7 separate regions of the Homo sapiens genome follow, and all the other regions are linked to region 3. The links are contacts of gene promoters, found by promoter capture Hi-C in blood cells and fetal thymus (Javierre and others, 2016). All regions are on one chromosome and are shown on one strand. Each heading gives the region's core, a stretch centred on a gene start or on the middle of the fragment in contact. The rest is flanking DNA. Distances are from core to core; before and after follow the strand shown.

The links. Contacts are between HindIII fragments. The CHiCAGO score rates a contact against its expected background, and 5 or more counts as called.
Region 1: a contact is called between a fragment that was not itself captured here and the fragment with the promoter of CCSAP in region 3, in 4 of 17 cell types (total CD4 T cells, non-activated CD4 T cells, total CD8 T cells and 1 more). The highest score is 8.0, in total CD4 T cells.
Region 2: a contact is called between a fragment that was not itself captured here and the fragment with the promoter of CCSAP in region 3, in 15 of 17 cell types (total CD4 T cells, fetal thymus, naive CD8 T cells and 12 more). The highest score is 16.0, in total CD4 T cells.
Region 4: a fragment that was not itself captured here is called in contact with the fragment with the promoter of CCSAP in region 3 in 1 of 17 cell types (fetal thymus); the score reaches 6.5 in fetal thymus.
Region 5: a contact is called between a fragment that was not itself captured here and the fragment with the promoter of CCSAP in region 3, in 1 of 17 cell types (fetal thymus). The highest score is 6.9, in fetal thymus.
Region 6: a fragment that was not itself captured here is called in contact with the fragment with the promoter of CCSAP in region 3 in 5 of 17 cell types (naive CD4 T cells, total CD4 T cells, total CD8 T cells and 2 more); the score reaches 8.0 in naive CD4 T cells.
Region 7: a contact is called between a fragment that was not itself captured here and the fragment with the promoter of CCSAP in region 3, in 1 of 17 cell types (total CD4 T cells). The highest score is 5.2, in total CD4 T cells.

The regions. Positions count from the first base shown.
Region 1 is chr1:228,689,697-228,692,396 of GRCh38, forward strand. It overlaps a transcript of RHOU not described here. Among named protein-coding and RNA genes, the nearest start is that of RHOU, 44 kb to the right of the region's middle. The HindIII fragment of the contact is 1,471 bases long and covers 526-1,996 here.
Region 2 is chr1:228,663,382-228,666,081 of GRCh38, forward strand. It overlaps a transcript of RHOU not described here. Among named protein-coding and RNA genes, the nearest start is that of RHOU, 71 kb to the right of the region's middle. The HindIII fragment of the contact is 596 bases long and covers 980-1,575 here.
Region 3 is chr1:229,341,795-229,344,494 of GRCh38, forward strand. It overlaps CCSAP (centriole, cilia and spindle associated protein), which reads right to left and starts at 1,253. Exons shown (of 4, transcript NM_145257.5): 1 at 1,118-1,253; 2 at 305-719. The coding sequence starts at 671. RefSeq lists silencers at 302-501, 702-1,561, 2,408-2,700. The HindIII fragment of the contact is 1,840 bases long and covers 1-1,716 here.
Region 4 is chr1:230,304,783-230,307,482 of GRCh38, forward strand. No RefSeq gene overlaps it. Among named protein-coding and RNA genes, the nearest start is that of PGBD5, 120 kb to the right of the region's middle. RefSeq lists a silencer at 1,530-1,619. The HindIII fragment of the contact is 2,035 bases long and covers 294-2,328 here.
Region 5 is chr1:230,062,491-230,065,190 of GRCh38, forward strand. It overlaps a transcript of GALNT2 not described here. Among named protein-coding and RNA genes, the nearest start is that of GALNT2, 3.4 kb to the right of the region's middle. The HindIII fragment of the contact is 4,741 bases long and covers 1-2,700 here.
Region 6 is chr1:228,728,025-228,730,724 of GRCh38, forward strand. It overlaps a transcript of RHOU not described here. Among named protein-coding and RNA genes, the nearest start is that of RHOU, 6.1 kb to the right of the region's middle. The HindIII fragment of the contact is 1,829 bases long and covers 474-2,302 here.
Region 7 is chr1:228,462,607-228,465,306 of GRCh38, forward strand. It overlaps the pseudogene H2BC27P. Among named protein-coding and RNA genes, the nearest start is that of MIR4666A, 1.9 kb to the left of the region's middle. The HindIII fragment of the contact is 3,883 bases long and covers 1-2,700 here.

The DNA of each region.
Region 1 (2,700 bases), core at 11-2,510, 650 kb before region 3:
CCCTATTGTGAACTGTGCATGTGAGGGATCTAGGGTGCTGGCTCTTAATGATAATCTAACTAATGCCTGATGATCTGAGATGGAACAGTTTCATACCGAAACCATCCCTACCACCCCTAGTTCGTGGAAAAATTGTCTTCCACGAAACTGGTCCCTGGCAACAAAAATGTTGGGAACCACTGTTATAAGCCATCTGTGAACCATGAAATGTTTGGGTCAGTCTCCTGAGACTGAAAATTTAATCAAAATTTCAGCAAGAACTTTCTCTTCCCACACTTTCCAGTGTGCCTGAAACCGGAATTTAAAAAAAATGTAATTGGAGCACGCAGAATCAATTCTTAACGCTGTTTCAATGTGTCCTTTCCCCCAAACAATACACTTAAGACATTTACTAAGTGTTAAAGAGCTACCTCTCTGTACTACTTGCTGTAATTTTCTTTGATCAGACTGATTTTTATTTAAAAGATTTGTTTTGTTTGTTTGTTTGTTTTTGTTTTTTAGAGCAGGAGTGAAAGTTTATTAAAAAGCTTTAGAGAAGTAAGGAAAGGAAGAAAAGGAAGGAAGGTACACTTGAAAGAGGGCCAAGTGGGCAACTTGAGAGACCAAATGCTGAAGATTAGTTTGTTTGTTTTTTTTTTTTCTCTTTGAGATGGAGTTTTGCTCTTGTTTCCCAGGCTGGAGTGCAATGGCATGATCTCGGCTCACCGCAACCTCCGCCTCCCAGGTTCAAGCAATTCTCCTGCCTCAGCCTCCTGAGTAGCTGGGATTACAGGCATGCACCACCACGCCTGGCTAATTTTGTATTTTTAGTAGAGACGGGGTTTCTCCATATTGAGGCTGGTCTCGAACTCCTGACCTCAGCTGATCCGCCCGCCTTGGCCTCCCAAAGTGCTGGGATTACAGGCGTGAGCCACCAGGCCCGGCTGTTTGGTTTTTTTTGAGATGGAGTTTTGCTCTTTTGCCCAGGCTGGAGTGCAGTGGCGTGATCTCGGCTCACTGAAACCTTTGCCTTCTGATTTCAAGCGATTCTTCTGCCTCAGTCTCCCGAGCAGCTGAGATTACAGGCGCCCACCACATAGCCTGGCTAATTTTTTTACTTTTAGTAGAGACGCGGTTTCACCATGTTGGGCAGGCTGGTCTCGAACTCTTGACCTCATGATCTGACCTCCTCGGCCTCCCAAAGTGCTGAGATTACAGGCGTGAGCCTCCGTGCATGGTGGAAGATTAGTTTTAAAAGAGTGTATCACATAGTGCTTAAGTACTGTGTTTTGTGCTTTTATGTTGTCATTAATAGTGCCTTCAAATTAGGGAGGAAACGACTTAACTCAGTTACTTGTAAAAGTTTGGTTGTGAAAGAAGCTAAATTAACTGCGAGGATTCAGCTTATAATTTTTTTTTTTTTAAATAGACTTTATTTTTCAAAACCTCTTTAGGTTCCCAGAAAATTGAACAGAAAATGCAGAGAGTTCCCATATCCTCTTTCCAGGCCTCCCTCACTATCAGCATTTCCTACAGAGTAGTACGTTTGTTACAATCAATAAATCTATATTGACACATCATTATCACCAGTCTGTAGTTTACATTAAGGTTCACTCTTAGTGTTGTACATTTTATGGGTTTTGACAAATGTGTAAGGACATGTTTCCACCACTACGGTATCACACAGAGGAGTTTCACTGGCCTAAAAGTCATCTGTGCTCCACTCACTCATCCCTCCCTCCCTCCCTCCCTCCCTCCAACTCCTGGCAACCACTGATCTTTTTATTGTTTCCATAGTTTTGTCTTTTTCAGAATAGCATATACTTGGAATCTTATAGTGTGTGGCCTTTTCAGATTGGCTTCTTTCATGCATTTAAGGTTCTTCATGTCTTGTAGAGGCTCAATAGCTTATTTCCTTTTAGTGATGAATGATATTCAGGATGTACCACAGTTTACTTATCCATTCACCTACTGAAGGACATCTTAGTAATTTCCAAGTTTTGGCAATTATGAATAAAGCTTCTATGAATATCTATGTACAGATTTTGTGTGGACATAAGTTTTGCAGGCTATAATTTTTCATCCTTAATCCTCAGTATCTAAGAACAGTGGGTAAAATTTGACCCAAACAGTACAGCTATAAATCTAGTTTCTGCTATCCCCTCTCACCAAGGCAACCGTTTCAAACGTTAACAAAGTCAATATGAAGGTTAAAAGAATCATGGCAGAAGTATTTAATCATATTATCCAAAGTTTATTGTACTTGGGAATGATTAGACTTAGAGTATCCATTAAGTACAGACTAAATGCAATCATGAACTTCCTCTTTGACTGCATGAGACCTTCAAAAATGCAGTGGTTGCTTTTAACCATAAATACTTTAGGCTGTAATTATGTACGAAGTAATGAGTAAATAGCTTGCATAAGCACTTTTACAAAGGGTAGAACAATTGGACCACAAGGTGGTGCCCAAGATATTTTAAATTCAGATCCTGGTGTCAGGTGAGCACTGAAAACCCAAGACTGGAAGATGAGTAGAATTAGAGCCAACAGATACTTGGAGCAGAAAATCCAATGTGTGTTTTAATGAAATGTATACATTCTTCTAAAATATCATCTTTCAATGATCATTATTACAGATTAAACATTTTAAAACTGCCCAAAGACTTTATGAAATCTTTTATTTTCTAGTTTTCTTCATATTATTCTTATTTGCCACCA
Region 2 (2,700 bases), core at 28-2,527, 680 kb before region 3:
TGTAACAAGAGAATACAATGTGTGTGCAAATTACCAGACTAGGCACTTATCACAATATTCTCAACTCATAGGAAAGCAATAATAAGGAAAATCGGAAAAGTTAAGCATATTCTTACTATTGAGTTTAAGAAGAAAAAAGAAAAGTTAAAAAAAATTAAGCAGCAATATCTCAACACATAGCTGACATTATTTTTCTTTATTTTTATTTTTCTTTTCTGTTTTTCTTTTCTTTTCTTTTCTTTTCTTTTTTTTTTTTTTTTTTTTTTTTTGAGACGGAATTTCACTCTGTCCCCCAGGCTGGGGTGCAGTGGCATGATCTCAACTCACTGCAACCTCCGCCTCCCGAGATCAAGCGATTCTCCTGCCTCAGCCTCCCACGTAGCTGGGATTACGCGCGCGCGACACCATACCTGGCTAATTTTTGTATTTTTAGTAGAGACGGGGCTTCACCATGTTGGCCAGGCTGGTCCCGAACTCCTGACCTCAAGTGATCCACCCGCCTTGGCCTCTCAAAGTGCTGGGATTACAGGCGCGAGCCGCCACGCCCGGCCAACATAGCTGGATTTCTTTTTCTTCTCCCCTCCCCTCCCCTCCCCTTCCCTCCCCTCCCCTCCCCTCCCCTCCTCTCCCCTCTCCTTTTTTTCTCTTCCCTTCTCTTCTTTTCTTATCTTCTGTCGCCCAGGCTGGAGAGCAGTGGCACTATCACGGCTCACTGCAGTCTTGACCTCTCGGGCTCGCGTGATCTCCCACTTCAGCCTACCGAGTAGCTGGGACTACAGATGTGTGCCACCAGGCTCGGCTAATTTTTTGTAGTTTTTGTAGAGGCGAGGTTTCTCCATATTTCCCAGGCTGGTCTCGAACTCCTGGGCATCGGCCCTCCTCGGCCTCCCAAAGTGTTGGGATTACAGGTGTGAGCCGCTGCGCTCGGCCTGGATTTCTTCATAAAGATAAAATTGGAAATAAAATTGCAGCCCAAGTAAGCTTCCAAGTGGCTCATTTGTTCCTCAAATGAGGAAAGCCATTTGCGGATAGCGAATCAACAAATCATGTTTGTACTCATTTTCTCAGAAACGTATTCTGAGAAAATAATCTTTATGAAGAATGTTAACCTTTTTGCTAGGTGGGGTGGGACTTTGGGAAAAAACCCAACAGTTTATTAAAACAAACAAAGCAAGAAACCAAATTGTCCGGCAGAGGGCAGCATTACCCCACAGAGCCAAAACCTTTGCCAGGAGGAACCCGTGTTCATTGCCAAGATTGATTGATTTTGAGACAGAGGTTTGTCCTTGTTGCCCAGGCTGGAGTGCAATGGCGCAATCTCAGCTCATTGCAACCTCCGTCTCCCAGGTTCAAGCAATTCTTCTGCTTCAGCCTCCCGAGTAGCTGGGTTTACAGGCGCCTGCCACCATGACCGGCTAATTTTTTGTATTTTGGTAGAGATGGGGTTTCACCATGTTGGCCATTTTGGTCTCGAAATCCTGACCTCAGGTGATCCACCGACCTCAGGTGATCCATCCGCCTCGGCCTCCCAAAGTGCTGGGATTACAGGTGTGAGCCACCGTGCCCGGCTTGCCAAGCTTTATTAACTAACATTTGTGGTGCCAGGCTGTTATGGTGATTTCTTCCTATTAGCTTATTTAATCTTCATGAAAACCCTTCAAGATAGGTACTATTTTATTTTCATTTTACAAATAAGAAAACTGAAACTCAGAATGGCTAAGTGACTTTTACCTGGTTCACATATCAATTAAGGTCAAGCCTTTGGCTCCAGGACCTATGTTTTTATTGAAGTAAATGATTATAAAGTGCCTGCTATGCACTAGGCATGGTCTAAGCACTTCACATGCTTTAATTACTTTAATCTTTATGATAACCCCAAGATTTAGGTACTATTATTACCATTTCCATTGTACCGATAAAGAAACCAAGATAAAGAGGTGAAGGTGATCCTACCTTCCCAAGGGAACTCCCACTGTCAGGCTTGAGTCCACAGGAGAGGCTCTAGCTGCTCTACGTGGCAGCACTAGGGTGAAGGCAGTGAGGCTCCTACTGCTCTGGTTCTGGCTGGGTCACACATGTCGGGGATGGGTTGCCAGCTCCCTCAATAAACCCCTACCTAGTCTTCTGAGTGACTCAAATCAGGTATCTTTGGTAGAGTGGAGTGGGGAACAGTAATATATCTTTGAGTGGAGTGGGGACAGTAATATATCTTTGAGTAGAGTGGGATGGGGAACACTAATATGAGTCCCAGAGTCCCAGGATTGAGAACCTGCAGTTCTGATGTCAGAGAGCAGAAGTTGGATGTCCTAGCTCCAGAATAAAGAGCAAATTTGTCCTTCCCCTGTCTTTTTGTTCTGTTGAGACCTTCAAGGAATTGGAAGAATAATGCCTATCCACATTGGTGAGGACAGATCATTTTGACTCAGTCTAGTGGTTCAAATAGTAATACCTTCTACCCTGGGAGAAAGCAGTCCCTCCAGGGTCAGCAAGGCCCCAAGATGTCAAAGCATCAAAAATACAGAATAAAAAGGTCATAATTAACACAAGATGGACAAAAGCCTTCTTCACCCCAGCATCTAGAAGTGTTCTTTTTTTTTTGACAGAACCTTGCTCTCACCAAGGCTGGAGTGCAGTGGTGTGATCTCGGCTCACTGCAACCTCTGCCTCCCGGGTTCAAGTGATCCCCCCACCTGAGCCTCC
Region 3 (2,700 bases), core at 3-2,502:
TAAGATGGGATTCAGAGGTTTGCCAAGCCGCAGAGGCCCGCGAGGAAAGACCCCAGACTCAGCCAGCGGCGCTTCAATTGAGTTCACCGCTGGCTCGACCGAAAGCCACCTAATTAAGGAAATAAAGGGTGGCAAAGGCTGCCACCTTCCCTATTTTGTCAAGAGAGACGGATTCTGTCAACCGAAAAAAAAAAAAGGAAGAGCCAGCCCCGAGTGGCGCAAGAAATAAGAGATCAGCTGCTCAGAGCTTAGAGCAAACCGTCCCTGCGTGCAGGCCCCTCGCGCTCCCCTCCGGGCCGGGTACCTGGCAGAGCCGCGTCCTCCGCGTCCTCGGCCTCCGCGTCCCCGGCCTCCGCGTCCTGCTCCTCCGGGGCCCCGCGCGCCCGCCGTTCCGCCTCCTCCTGGGTCGCCGGCTCTACGGGCGGCGGGGGCGAGGGCGGGGCGCACCGGGGTGCGGGGCCCCCGGCGCCCGACGACTCTGACGACGCCGAGTCCTCCGAGGAGCCGGCCGGGCCCCAGTCGTCCCAGAGCCAGGGCGCGTGCGCCTGCTCCAGCAGCCGGCGGCCTAGGCGGTAGTGCAGCAGCTCGCGGTAGCACGGCCCGTACTCCTCCCAGCGCGGCTCCTGGTAGCGCTTCATGTACTCGCTCTTCACCCCGCTCCCCGGGGACATGGTGCCGTCCGCCGCCTCGAGCGCCAGCCGCTCCTCGCTGCCCGCAGCCTACGGGACCCGGTACACGACACAGAGGCCGCCCCGCCCCTCCGCCGGCCCTGCCCGCCGCGACGTTTAAACCCGGAGCCCCGCCCGGACGGGAGCAGGGGGCGGGTCCCGGCGAGGGCGGGGAGGGGGCGGGGCGGGGGCGGCCTCACCCGGCGGCCGGGACCAAGAGCAGAGGCGGGGACCGGGGCTGCTGGGGTCGAGGGGCGCGCCGCCGAGGAGGGCTGCTCAGTGGGCGGAAGGCAGGGAGGCTGCGGGCTGGGGCGAGGGGACCGCAGGAGACTGGGGCTGAGCGGGAGGAGGAGCGAGGGAGGGGAGCGGCGGGGCCCGTGATCGGGTGGTCCTGGGGTCTCCGGAGGCGTCCCCTGAGCTAGGCGTGCGGTCCCGCGGGGCTGCCTTACCTCCTTCCCGCCGCGCCCGGCCGATCCTCTGCGCCCAGGCCCGAGGCGCGCGTGGCGCAGCAGCTAAAGCGCAGCTCGCTCTCCCGCGCGCTTTCCTCCTGAGCAAGATGTCGCCGCGGCGGCCCGCGCTCCAGCTGCAGGCGGGAGGCGGTGGCGCCGCCTCAGTCCCGGAGCCTCCACGCGCGCTCCCGGCCCCCGGGCCTCCGCCCGCTCCGTGGGGGCGGCTGCTTCCGTAGAGAGCGCGAGGCGCGGGGGTGCGGGCGTGCCTGCCAGTCCGAGGGGCCCAGGCCCAGGTCCCTGGCCCACTTATTTGAGGTGCCCGTCCACCCTGGTCCCAGCAGACGCTGTCCCAGGCACGCGTCACTCTGCAGGAGTCGTCAGTTAGGGGCAAGAGATGATCCCTCCAGATATGCAGCCCCCCCAGGCTGCGGCCGGGGGCGACACTCTCTGTCCTCACTCGAAACCTACCGGTTCTTCCTCTCTGTGTTCACAACACCTGTTACTCTGGCTTTAACTCCCTTTTATATCTACACTCCCCAAATTCTTTTAGATTTTGATCAAAACCATTTCACTCGCTCAGAGATTCGTTTGCACATAAAAGCTTGACAGATTAACTTACGTTGTGCAGAAGTATACAAAGTTGTCCCATTTGTTACAGTTTCAAAAGTGGCCCCACACTCTTTTCCCTTTTTACACATAAAACCTTCACAGATCCAGTTACTTTGTGCAGAAGTATACAACGTTGCCCCATTTGTTACAGTTTCAAAAGTGGCCCCGCACTGTTTTCCCTTTTTGCTCATAAAACCTCCACAGATCCGGCTGAGCGCTGTGGCTCACGCCTGTAATCCCAGCATTTTGGGAGGCCGAGGCGGGTGGCTCACGAGGTCAGGAGATCGAGACCATCCTGGCTAACACAGTGAAACCCCATCTCTACTAAAAAAATAAAAATAAAAAGAATTAGCCCGGCGTGGTGGTGAACGGCTGTAGTCCCAGCTACTCGGGAGCCTGAGGCAGGAGAATGGCGTGAACCCGGGAGGCGGAGCTTGCAGTGAGCCTAGATTGCGCCACTGCACTCCAGCCTGGGCGACAGAGCAAGACTCCGTCTCAAAAAAAATAAAAAATAAAAAATAAAAACCTTCACAGATCCAGTTACATTGTACAGAAGAATACAACGTTGCCCCATTTGTTACAGTTTCAGAAGTGGTCCTGCACTATTTTCCCTTTCTTAAAAAAAGAGCCTTGATACAGTAGCTGCAAAAAGATTTGAAAGGAAAAAACTTTTGGAAAATCTAAATATATATATAGCAGTTAAAAAGCAAGCCCAGGCCGTGAGTAGCGCTCACGGCTTCCACGTCAGGATTCCCACGAATTCACCTACTTTCTACGTGTCCGCATCCTGCCTCCCACCACCACCGCCCACCTCATCATAGCTAAATGATTCAGAGGCGGCTACTGGCCCAAATGGGGCGGGTCAGACCGTCTGCTCTGAAAACTTGAAGTTACTAGTCCAATCATTAGCACGGGATTGTGTTAATGGCAGTTTTCTGGACGGAAACTCCAGGATACCCTGCTGCTAATGAGTC
Region 4 (2,700 bases), core at 61-2,560, 960 kb after region 3:
TAATAAAAAAAAGAAAGAAGAACATATTGGGCCAGGCTATTAAGGAGTAGCATAAGGGAGTTTCTTTGGGGAGATAGGACAGTTTCACGTCCTGACTGAGGTGGTGATTACTGGAGTCTACAAGTGTGATTAAATGTCATATATCTATACACCAAGAGGAAGGGACGGAGTCACTTGAACCCGGGAGGCGGAGGTTGCAGTGAGCTGAGATTGTGCCACTGCACTCCAGCCTGGAGACAGAGAGAGACTCCATCTAAAAAAAAAAAAAAAAAAAAAAAGCCAGACATTCTAAAAGCTTATCAATGGGGGAATAATTTTGTTATCTTTGTACATATATACTATGGCATATATTACATCATTTAAAAATAGCGTAGACACATGTAAATAAAGATCAATGATAAGAGAAAAAGTGACAAATATGTATAATCTGATCCAATTAATGTTTTTAAAAAAGAAAAAGGCTGCATGTATGTAAAAAGGCCTAGAAAGAGCTCTGAATAAATTTATTTTGTATTGCTATAAAGGAATATCGGACACTGGGTAATTTATCAGTAAAAGAGGTTTATTTGGCTCACAGTTCTGCAGGCTGCAGAGAAGCATGGCACCAGCATCTGCTTCTGCTGAGGGTCTCAGGGAGCTTCCAATCATGGTGGGAGGGGAAGGGGAGCTGTCATGTCATATGGCAAGAGAAAGGGAGCAAGAGAGAAAGGGGAGGACATGCCAGTCTCTCTTTATTTTATTTACTTGTTTTTGAAATGGAGTCTCACTCTTTCACCCAGGCTGGGGTGCAGTGGCGTGAACTTGGTCCAGTGCAACCCCTGTCCGCCTCCCAGGTTTAAGAGATTCTCAGGTCTTGGCATCCCAAGTAGCTGGGATCACAGGCACCCACCAAGAAGCCCAGCTTATTTTTGTATTTTTAGTAGAGATAGGGTTTCACCATGTTGGCCAGGCTGGTCTTGAACTCTTGACCTCAAGTGATCCACCTGGCTGGGTCTCCCAAAGTGCTGGGATTGCAGGCATGAGCTGCCAAGCCTGGCCCCAAGCTCTTGTTTTTTGAGACAGAGTCTCGCTCAGTCACCCAGGCTGGAGTGCAGTGGTGCAATCTTGGCTCACTGCAACCTCTGCCTCCTGGGTTCAAGCGATTCTTGTGCCTCAGTCTCTTGAGTAGCTGGGATCACAGGCACCTGCCACCAAGCCCAGCTAATTTTTGTATTTTTAGTAGAGATGGGGTTTCATGATGTTGACCAGGCTGGTCTTGAACTCCTGACCTCAAGTGATCCTCCTGCCTCAGTCTCCCAAAGTGCTGGGATTACAGGCATGAGCCACCGTACCTGGCTTCAGGCTCTTTTTAAACAACCAAACCTAAAGGTAACTAACAGAATGAGAGCTCATTTATTGCGATGGGGATGGCACCAAGCCATTCATAAGGGATCCACCCCATGATCCAAGCACCTCTCATTAGACCCCACCTCCAACACTGGGGATCACATTTCAACATGAGATTTGGAGGTGACAAATATCCAAACTGTACCAAGCTCTGAAAGTAAAACTAAATTGATGCACAGTGCTTACCTCTCCTAGACTCAGAGGGCGGAAGTCAATGCCCTCTCGTGGTGGGGGTGGAGGAGGGAAGGAAGACATGTGAAGGTCAATTTCATCATTTTATGAAAAGCATGAATACTAACGAGAATTTCTTATGATGACATGTCCAAGTATCTTTTGCTATTTTTTTTTTTTTTTTTTTGAGATGGAGTCTTGCTCTGTCACCCAGGCTGGAGTGCAGTGGCATGATCTCGCTCACTGCAAGCTCTGCCTCCCAGGTTTACACCATTCTCCTGCCTCAGCCTCCCCAGTAGCTGGGACTACAGGCGCCTGCCACCATGCCCGGCTAATTTTTTGTATTTTTAGTAGAGATGGGGTTTCGCCATGTTAGCCAGGATGGTCTCAATCTCCTGACCTCGTGATCCGCCCGCCTCGGCCCCCAAAGTGCTGGGATTACAGACGTGAGCCACTGTGCCTGGCCTTGGTAATTTAAAAAAAAACAAAAAACAAAACAAAACAAAAAAACAGGTTGTGCCAACAGCAAAATGGGAAAGGCAAGGATGTTTATTGACAGTCATCTACAATGACGGGAGTTTCACTCGTTGGTATCACGGGGACGACATCAAAAGCATCTGTAAGTAGAGTTGATACAGCCTTCCAAGGGTGTATCCCCAAACCTCACCTCTAGCCCAACGTGAAGCATCACAAACAAGTCAATGCTTTTACAGTAAACATCCCTTAGTTTACTGAGAAAGAAAAATTTAAAGTCTGGGGCAAGGACACTTAAGCTTAAACAGTTGCAGGTTGATGGAACCTTTGTAACTGATGAAATCTATGGACTTCTTGCCAGAAAGAAAAAGAAAGTCACATATACATACACAAAACAATATTTTCCTTACAAGTGGAGCCCTGAATTCCTGCCCTACAGAAGAAATAATGATTTTCCTGCCCATGAGGCCCTTCAGCACTGGGGCTTAATCCACTTTTTTGACTCGTATCCAACTACTCCCCCCACCACCCAACCCCATTCATTCATTGGCTCCCTCCCAACACCTTAGCTCACTCCCTGTCTATGTCGAAGGCCTTCCCTCCCTCCACTTTCCTGGCTGGCTCAGCTTCCCTCAAGTCCTAGTTGTCTTCTGGTCACCCCCCTGGAAC
Region 5 (2,700 bases), core at 147-2,646, 720 kb after region 3:
AAATAATAATGGGAACTCCTAATTCCTCTCTTCCTCAAGCCCCTGGTGACTGCCATTTTACTTTTTGCCTCTATGATTTTGGTTACTGTAGGAAACTCATATAAGTGAAATCATTTGGTATTTGTCTTTTTGTGTCTCGCTCATTTCATCTAGCATATTGTCCTCAACGTTCATCCATGTTCTGGTATGTGTTAGAATTTTCTTCTTTTTTAGGGCTGAATAATATTCCATTGCATGGATATACCACATTCTGCTTGTCCATTTATCTGTTGATAGATATTTGTGTTGTCCCACCCTTTGGCCACTGTAAATAACACTGCTATGAATGTGGATATACAAATATCCGTTTGAGTCGCTGCTTTCAATTCCTTTATGTATACAACCAGAAATGGAATTGCTGGATCATATAGTAGTTCTAAATTTAATTTTTTGAGGAACCACTATACCATTTTCAACAGCAGTGCGTAAGGGTTCCAATTTCTCTACATCCTCACCAACACTTGTTATTTATTTATTTATTTATTTTAAAAATGTTTTATAGGCTGGGCGCGGTGGCTCACACCTGTAATCCCAGCACTTTGGGAGGCTGAGGCAGGTGGATCATGAGGTCAGGAGTTTGCGACCAGCCTGGCCAATATGGTGAAACCCTGTCTCTACTAGAAATACAAAAATTAGCAGGGCATGGTGGTACATGCCTGTAGGCCCAGCTGCTTAGGAGTCTGAGGCAGGAGAATGGCTTGACCCCAGGAGGTGGAGGTTGCAGTGAGCCGAGATTGTGCCACTGCACTTTAGCCTCGGCGACAGAGCAAGTGTCCACCAAAAAAAAAAAAAAAAATTTTATATAATAGCTATCCTAATGGATATGAAGTGGTATCTCACTGTGGGTTTTTGTTGTGTTTTGTTTTTTATTTCCATAATCAACACTGGAGGTACATTACAGTTTGTCCTCATGAATTCTAGTTGTTCTCATGAGGTACATTTTGTCCTTGCAGTTTTGACTTTGTCTTTGAAATGCCCCATGTCACATCTAGCTATTCTTCTGATTCCCAGGTCTAGAAACTACAGTGACTTCAGACCTGCCCCATGTACAATGGAAAGACTTCCATAACCTTTTTTCTTCTACCTCTAACATTGTCTAAAGTTTAATCTCTATCATACATCGCTTATTCCATCAAACTAATAATGATTTTACTTTGCAGATCAAATCCTAATGATATACAATTGATAAGTGTTTAGGAAGGGAAGTTTTGGGCTATAAATTGTCCCTCTTCATCTCATTTAATGCTTTTTGGCCTACTCTGTTTTGTTTGATATCAGAATCACAGCACCTGCTTTTTCAGAGTTGGGGTTTCCGTTATGCCTACATTTGAAAATCTTTTATTTTAAAGGGTGAACTGAGCCCACTTATAAATTGTTATATCTGATGTGGGTTGGTCTCAGCTGTGTCATATTGTTTCCTATTATAACTACTGCATCACTGTGCCACACTTACTGTGTTTCTTTCATTATTTGGTATGTATTCTTTGCTATTTTTAGAACTTTTGGGGTTTTGGAATAGGGTTTCCAATATTTGGGAATACATATATTTTGTTGTAGTGATTTTTATTTATATTTTTAATATATTACCCTTAATTCCTATATTTTGTTTCTAACCTTTTAACATCTGGTCTGTCTGTTTTATATGGTATCCTTTCACTACTACCTGCTACTGATATTGCAGACAATGATATTATTCTATTTTCCCTTCGCTCTTCCCCTTCTCCTCCAGTTGTCTTTAGTTGCACCTGTTCTAAGTTTATCAGAAAGTATAATGTATATACACTAGTCTTTCACCTTCTGAATATACAAAATGCTCTCCATTAGTCACTCTGCTGGCTTCCTCAGCTGTCTCTTGGTTGGAGGAAGCTCATTCTCTAAGATTCCTCATGAAAGGCCCATGTGAGTCACGTTCTCTGAATTTTTGCATTCAGGTCATATCTGTTTGCCTACAACCTTGACACTTGAGGGCTGGGTATAAAAATCACTGCCTGGTACTTTTTTGTGTGTGTGTCATGGAGTCTCGCTCTGTCACCCAGGCTGGAGTGCAATGGCATGATCTCAGCTCACTGCAACCTCTGCCTCCCGGGTTCAAATGATTCTTCCACCTCAGCCTCTCGAGTAGCTGCGATTACAGGCACCTGCCGGCTAAGTTTCATATTTTTTTTAGTGATGGGGTTTCACCACTTTGGCCAGGCTGGTCTTGAACTCCTGACCTCAGGTGATCCACCCACTCTGGCCTCCCAAAGTGCTGGGATTACAGGCATGAGCCACTATGCCCAGCCTGCCTGGCACTTTTGTTCCTTGTTAATGCTGCTCCACTGTTGCCTGGCTTTGCATGTTGCTGTTCAGAAGTCTGATGCCAGCATAAATTTTTATCTCTATAAGCAATTTGATCTTTTTTGCCTTTAAAATCTAATCGTTTTACTAAAATATATTTAGGAGTTGATAATTCCAGATCATTTCCCAAGGTACATGGAAGTCACTTTTGACATGTACATTTAAATTTTCCCTTATTCCTGGATTATTTTCTGGGGTTATAGTTTTAATATTAATTAGGTTTTATTGTTTAATGTTTGTACTTTAGGGACTCCACTTAACATGTATTTTGGTCTTCCTTTCCTGGCTTTTATTTTAACCTCTTCTCTCTGAACCTTTTTACTT
Region 6 (2,700 bases), core at 138-2,637, 610 kb before region 3:
AGGGTCAGACAGCTGGGAAGACCAATTGGGATTGCTATAGCAGCTCCAGGTCCCAGGGAATGGAGATGGCCTTTCTCATCAAAGAGGAATGGCAGGGTTGCAACAGCTGAGAAGACCCAGAGAAGGGGATTTAACAGAGGAAAATAAACCAAGACTAATGCAGGAAAGGTGCCACCAGTGTAGCTCAGCCTGCCTAGAACAGCATCTGTTTTCCACGTTAGCAGCGAGTCTAGCCTTTCTCCTCTAGGCAAATCTACCTGCCATCCCTCTAAGGGCTCTCCCTGGTGCTTTCATTTTTCTTCCAGAACTGATGCATATAAATTGCCATTTATCTCTTGTGATAATTCTGCAGAACCAGTTCAGTTAGTTAAAATATTAAAACACTTATAAATAGCCATGGTGGAAGATGATACCCCCATTAAAAATAAATATTAAAGATGTAAATGATGTGCAGTACTTCATGTTCCTGGAAAAGCTTTGTATAAATAGGATTTTGGTACTCAAATCACATTTAAATTTTATTAGAGTGTTATTTAATTCAAAAAGTTTACAATATGTGATTAGCACTGTGCTAAGCTAAAGCAAACAGTTCTTTGGAATGCAAATAACCATGAGTTCTGTTTAATATGATTTATATGTTTGAATTTGTTTAATCTTTAAAATTTAAAAATATAGCATGATTCACAAAAGTGAATGAAACAAATATATAGCCAATAATTACTATACAGTGCACACCTATAAAACCACCACTCAGATCAAGAAATTGCCTGAACATCAGAAGTTTCCCATGACCCCTTTCCTTCCTGAATGTAACAATTGCCCCCAATTACTCTGACATCTAGCACTGATGAGTTTTGTCAATTTCTTTTCTTTTCTTTTTTTTTTTTTGGAGACAGAGTCTCGCTCTGTCGCCCAGGCTGGAGTGCAGTGGCACGATCTTGCCTCACTGCAAACTCTGCCTCCCGGGTTCAAGCGATTCTTCTACCTTAGTCTCCCAAGTAGCTGGGGCTACAGGTATGCACCACCACGCTGGGCTAATTTTTATATTTTCAGTAGAGTCGGAGTTTCACCATATTGGCCAGGCTGTGCTCGAACTCCTGACCTCATGATCCACCTGCCTGGGCCTCTCAAAGTGCTGGGATTACAAGCATGAGCCACCGTGCCTGGCCAAGTTTTGTCCATTTCTAAATTTTATATAAATCAAATAAGATAGTTTATACTCCTTTGTGTCTGATTTCTTTCACCTCTCATTTAGTTGATGAGATTCATTCCTGTATGTTCACTCATTTTCTTGACTGAATAGTAGTATATCATGAATTACCAAATTAACTCATCCATTTTACTGTTTTAGACATTTATATGGTTTTTAGTTTTGAGCTCTTATAAAATTGCCATTATACGCATTTGTTCACCCACAGAAATCCATGTGTTCACTCATAGAAATGCACGGGTACATATACAGACAGGAATGCACATGTTCATGTATAGAAATGCAGGGTATGCACACACAGAAATGAGTGTCACAGGTGGCATAGTTACAAGATGCAAGAAGACTGCATCCCTGAGTCTCCACTTGAAAGGGAGCTGCCTTGGAGAGCTACTAAATCTGCTGTGAATTTTGCATGACCAAAAAATTAACTCCTATGTTTCTAGACATTGAAATTTTGAGTTCACTTATTATTGCAGCATAGTACAGCCTAATCTGACTAGTATAAAACAACATAAACAGTTTCAGAAATAATTTTTACAATCAAAATTAAGGATTGATTTTTACATCTTAAACTTTCATGATACCAATGGAAGAGCTTAATTTATCCATTCTAGTTATCTACAAGGTGATGGCAGGTGATAAAAGGACTTCTGGAGGCAGGGAAACTAGTATCAGCACATCCAACCAACCATGTGGTCTGAGCCCTTACCATGACACTAACTGATGTTTGTGATTCCTGAAAGGAGCCACTGGTGGCCCATTTGGTGGTTTGGTGACATTTATATGATTTCCCCATCTTTTCTAGTGAAACATGGCAAGACATTTTCCTTGTCATTTTTTTTTCCTAGGATGACATCCCCAGTGGTAAACAAGAAACTATTGGTCAGGGCCCAGTCAGGAAATCAGAGCCACTCCAAGGTACAGGGTTAAGGAAGGAGAGCTTTCACAAGTTTGGGAATTGCTGGGGAAGTTCAGAGGGAAACAGTGCCTAACCCTGACCAGCTGAAACCCTTGTGCAGGATACTGGTGGGAACTTGGAGAAAAGCCAATAGTAAGTTATGCAGATATGGCCCTTGGAGGCTGTGGAAGGGAAGCTTGAGGCATGAGGTGTAGGGACTGCAGCCTCTTTGGGGCCCAGGGGCTGGGTGAGGGCTGAAGGCTGCTCTGGGTCAGCAGAGCCAGCAGTGAGATGATATCACTGCAAAGCAGGAGGCTAGTGAGGATGTGCTGGGCACCGCTGTGTCCATCCACTGGCATGTTTGACCATATGACCCTCCTCCACTTCCCTTCAGTCTTCTCAATTCTGAGAATCATGTCTCCGGACAACTTTAGCCGAGAACCATACAAAGAAGGAAATTCTGGGAGCAGACAGCCATGCTGGCAATAGACAACCCAGCTTAGAGTCTCCAGTTCTAGAGAAATATTCTTCTGATGTCCTCTTATAGGGTATTGAAAAAACTAGGGCACTGCTGAAGGAAAGAAATCAGATT
Region 7 (2,700 bases), core at 123-2,622, 880 kb before region 3:
AAATCCCGTCATCAGCAACATGGATGGAACTGGAGGACATTATGTTAAGTAAAACAAATCAGGCACAGAAAGACAAATACTGCATGATCTCACTCATACGTGGGAGCTAAGAACATGCATCTCATGGAGGTAGAAAGTTGATTGCTGGTTACCAGAAGCTGGGAAGAGTGGTGGGGAAAGGAGGAGATGAAGTTGATTAATGGGTACAAAAATATGCTTAGAAGAAATGGTAACATCTAGTATTGGTTAGAAAAGTAGGGTGACTGTAGTTAACAATAATTAGTTGTATTGCTGGAGGAGAGGAATTGGAATGATCTCGACCTAAAGAGGGTGTGAATATGATGACGGATGTCCCAGTTGCCCTGGTTTGATTGTTAAGCCTATGCGTATATCAAAATATTTGTACCCCCCAAATATGTACAACTATTACGTACTACTAATAAAAAAGCATATTGCTCTGAAAAAGTGCTCTAAAAAATAAAGCCTATTTACAAAAAGAATTTGGAGGAAAGAAAACTCCCTTTAAGAAGAAACTAACCCAAGAAAATGGATTTACTTTATGAGGCCAGAGAGGTTAAATGTTGATAAATGCGTGGCTGTCATTGTGTTGGGAGTGTGCAGTGGGAACTGAGCCTGGGTAGAGTGCATCTTCTACCAGTGGGAACTGAGCCTGGAAACCGAATTCTAATTCCAGGCAACGTTTTTGCTTAGAGGGTGGGTAGCTCTCAGGTATTCGTGGTTGGGGTGTCACCGGTATGGGGTATTTTTAGGGGGAGGACAGCCTGGGCCCCAGTCAGGCCTGCATGCCTTAGTTTTTAATGTGTCATCCAGAGATCATACTTATTTTTCCTATGATTTGCTGGAGTTTTTTTTAAAAAGCACTATATTTGCATTATTCAAAATAATCTTTCACTGTGTAATATGCGTACACACACACACACACACATTTTGGGGGTAAAATACGAGAATCCCTTAATTGGGGAAATTTTAGCTGAGTGATAAGGAGATCTGTGAGCCTGCTGTTTTGATGTTTCAAGCAGGAAGGCGTGGCATAAAGAGCTGCTTAGGCGCAACGCTGCTGAAATGGTTTTGGCTAGAAGCTCACAGTGTCTAGTTGTGGCTAAGGAGGGAGGAAAGGGGCGGGAGAAGAACGGACCCAAGCGCCTCCGCCCAGACGGCGCGATAACCCCCTCACCTCCAACCCCGGACCTCAGTGAGCACGTCCTCCAGTCTCAGCCGCCAGGAGGCACTGGGGGCGGGGACGTGGCACAAGATCTTCCCGGAGGTGACCCACGCTCCTCGCGCGCAGGGCGTAAGCCACACACAGATCTTTGGATGGGATCCATGGCGCAATCGCCTGTACTGCCCCCTCTCTGACTTTGCCTGTGGCCAACACAAGACGAACGCAGCCTTTCTAAGGGAAATATGCCGTTACAAACAAGAAGCCTAATTTTGTCTCTAAGACTTGCGCCCCCACGGCTCAGTCTACTTTCCCTCATTACTCCAATTGAATCACAGGTCACAACCAGACCAGGTGGCACGCTCCTTTTGGAGCTTGGAGGTGGCTCTGAAAAGAGCCTTTGGGTTCGGGGCGCCGGGACGCACCTCACTTGGAGCTGGTGTACTTGGTGACAGCCTTAGTGCCCTCGGACACGGCGTGCTTGGCCAGCTCGCCGGGCAGCAGCAGGCGCACGGCCGTCTGCACTTCGCGGGACGTGATGGTGGAGCGCTTGTTTGTAGTGCGCCAGGCGGGAGGCCTCGCTGGCGATGCGCTCGAAGATGTCATTGACGAAGGAGTTCATGATGCCCATGGCCTTGGACGAGATGCCGGTGTCGGGGTGCACCTGCTTCAGCACCTTGTACACGTAGATAGAATAGCTCTCCTTGCGGCCGCGCTTGCGCTTCTTGCCGTCCTTCTTCTGCGCCTTGGTAATGGCCTTCTTGGAGCCCTTTTTAGAAGCCGGAGCCGCCCGCGATGGCTCCGGCATGGCGAGGTGACAAGAGCGCCTAGACGAACGCGGATGCGGGGCCGGCAGGGCTATTTGCCATCTTTATATTCAAATTAAGGCTCCAAATTTGTAGTGTCTGATTGGACGGCCTGACTCCGCGGCCGCCACTGGGAGGAATTTCTGTAAATAGCAGAGTCCGGTTCTTCTTTCCTATTGGACGGCGGTCCAACCAATCCCAAGGCATATCCGCCGCGCGCCGGAGCTGAGGTTGCGCATCTTTGTTCAAAGCCTTTGTTTTAAACCTGGAGATTTTTGTGTCTGCAGCGGATCTGGAGGTAGCTAAAGAGAAACTGAAAAACGGTTGCAACCCCAAATTGAGGTCTTCTCTGGCTGTGAGGCACATACATGGGGGCATTTTTTTTTTCTGAGGCCCACAGCTAGGGAGGGGTAGTTAGTGCTTATTTAGAAGGGGAGGTGGCGGTGGGAATGGCAGTTTGCAACGACCTTAACCCTTCGTTTCTTGCCCTTCCCTCCATTCCTCCAAAGATCAAAGAGATGCATTCTTCTCAGAATTCAATTGTAAATCCAAACGGTTCGTTAGGAAATACAGAAAATAGTACAGAAAACATGCTAAGGTACTTCAATTGGAATTGTCATGAGGCAGAGTTTTAACTGGAGAAATTGAATGGGTTTCAAATGAAACTTAGTCTTTCCTATTGTTTTTAAGGTCTCCCCAAACCCCTTCGAAGTG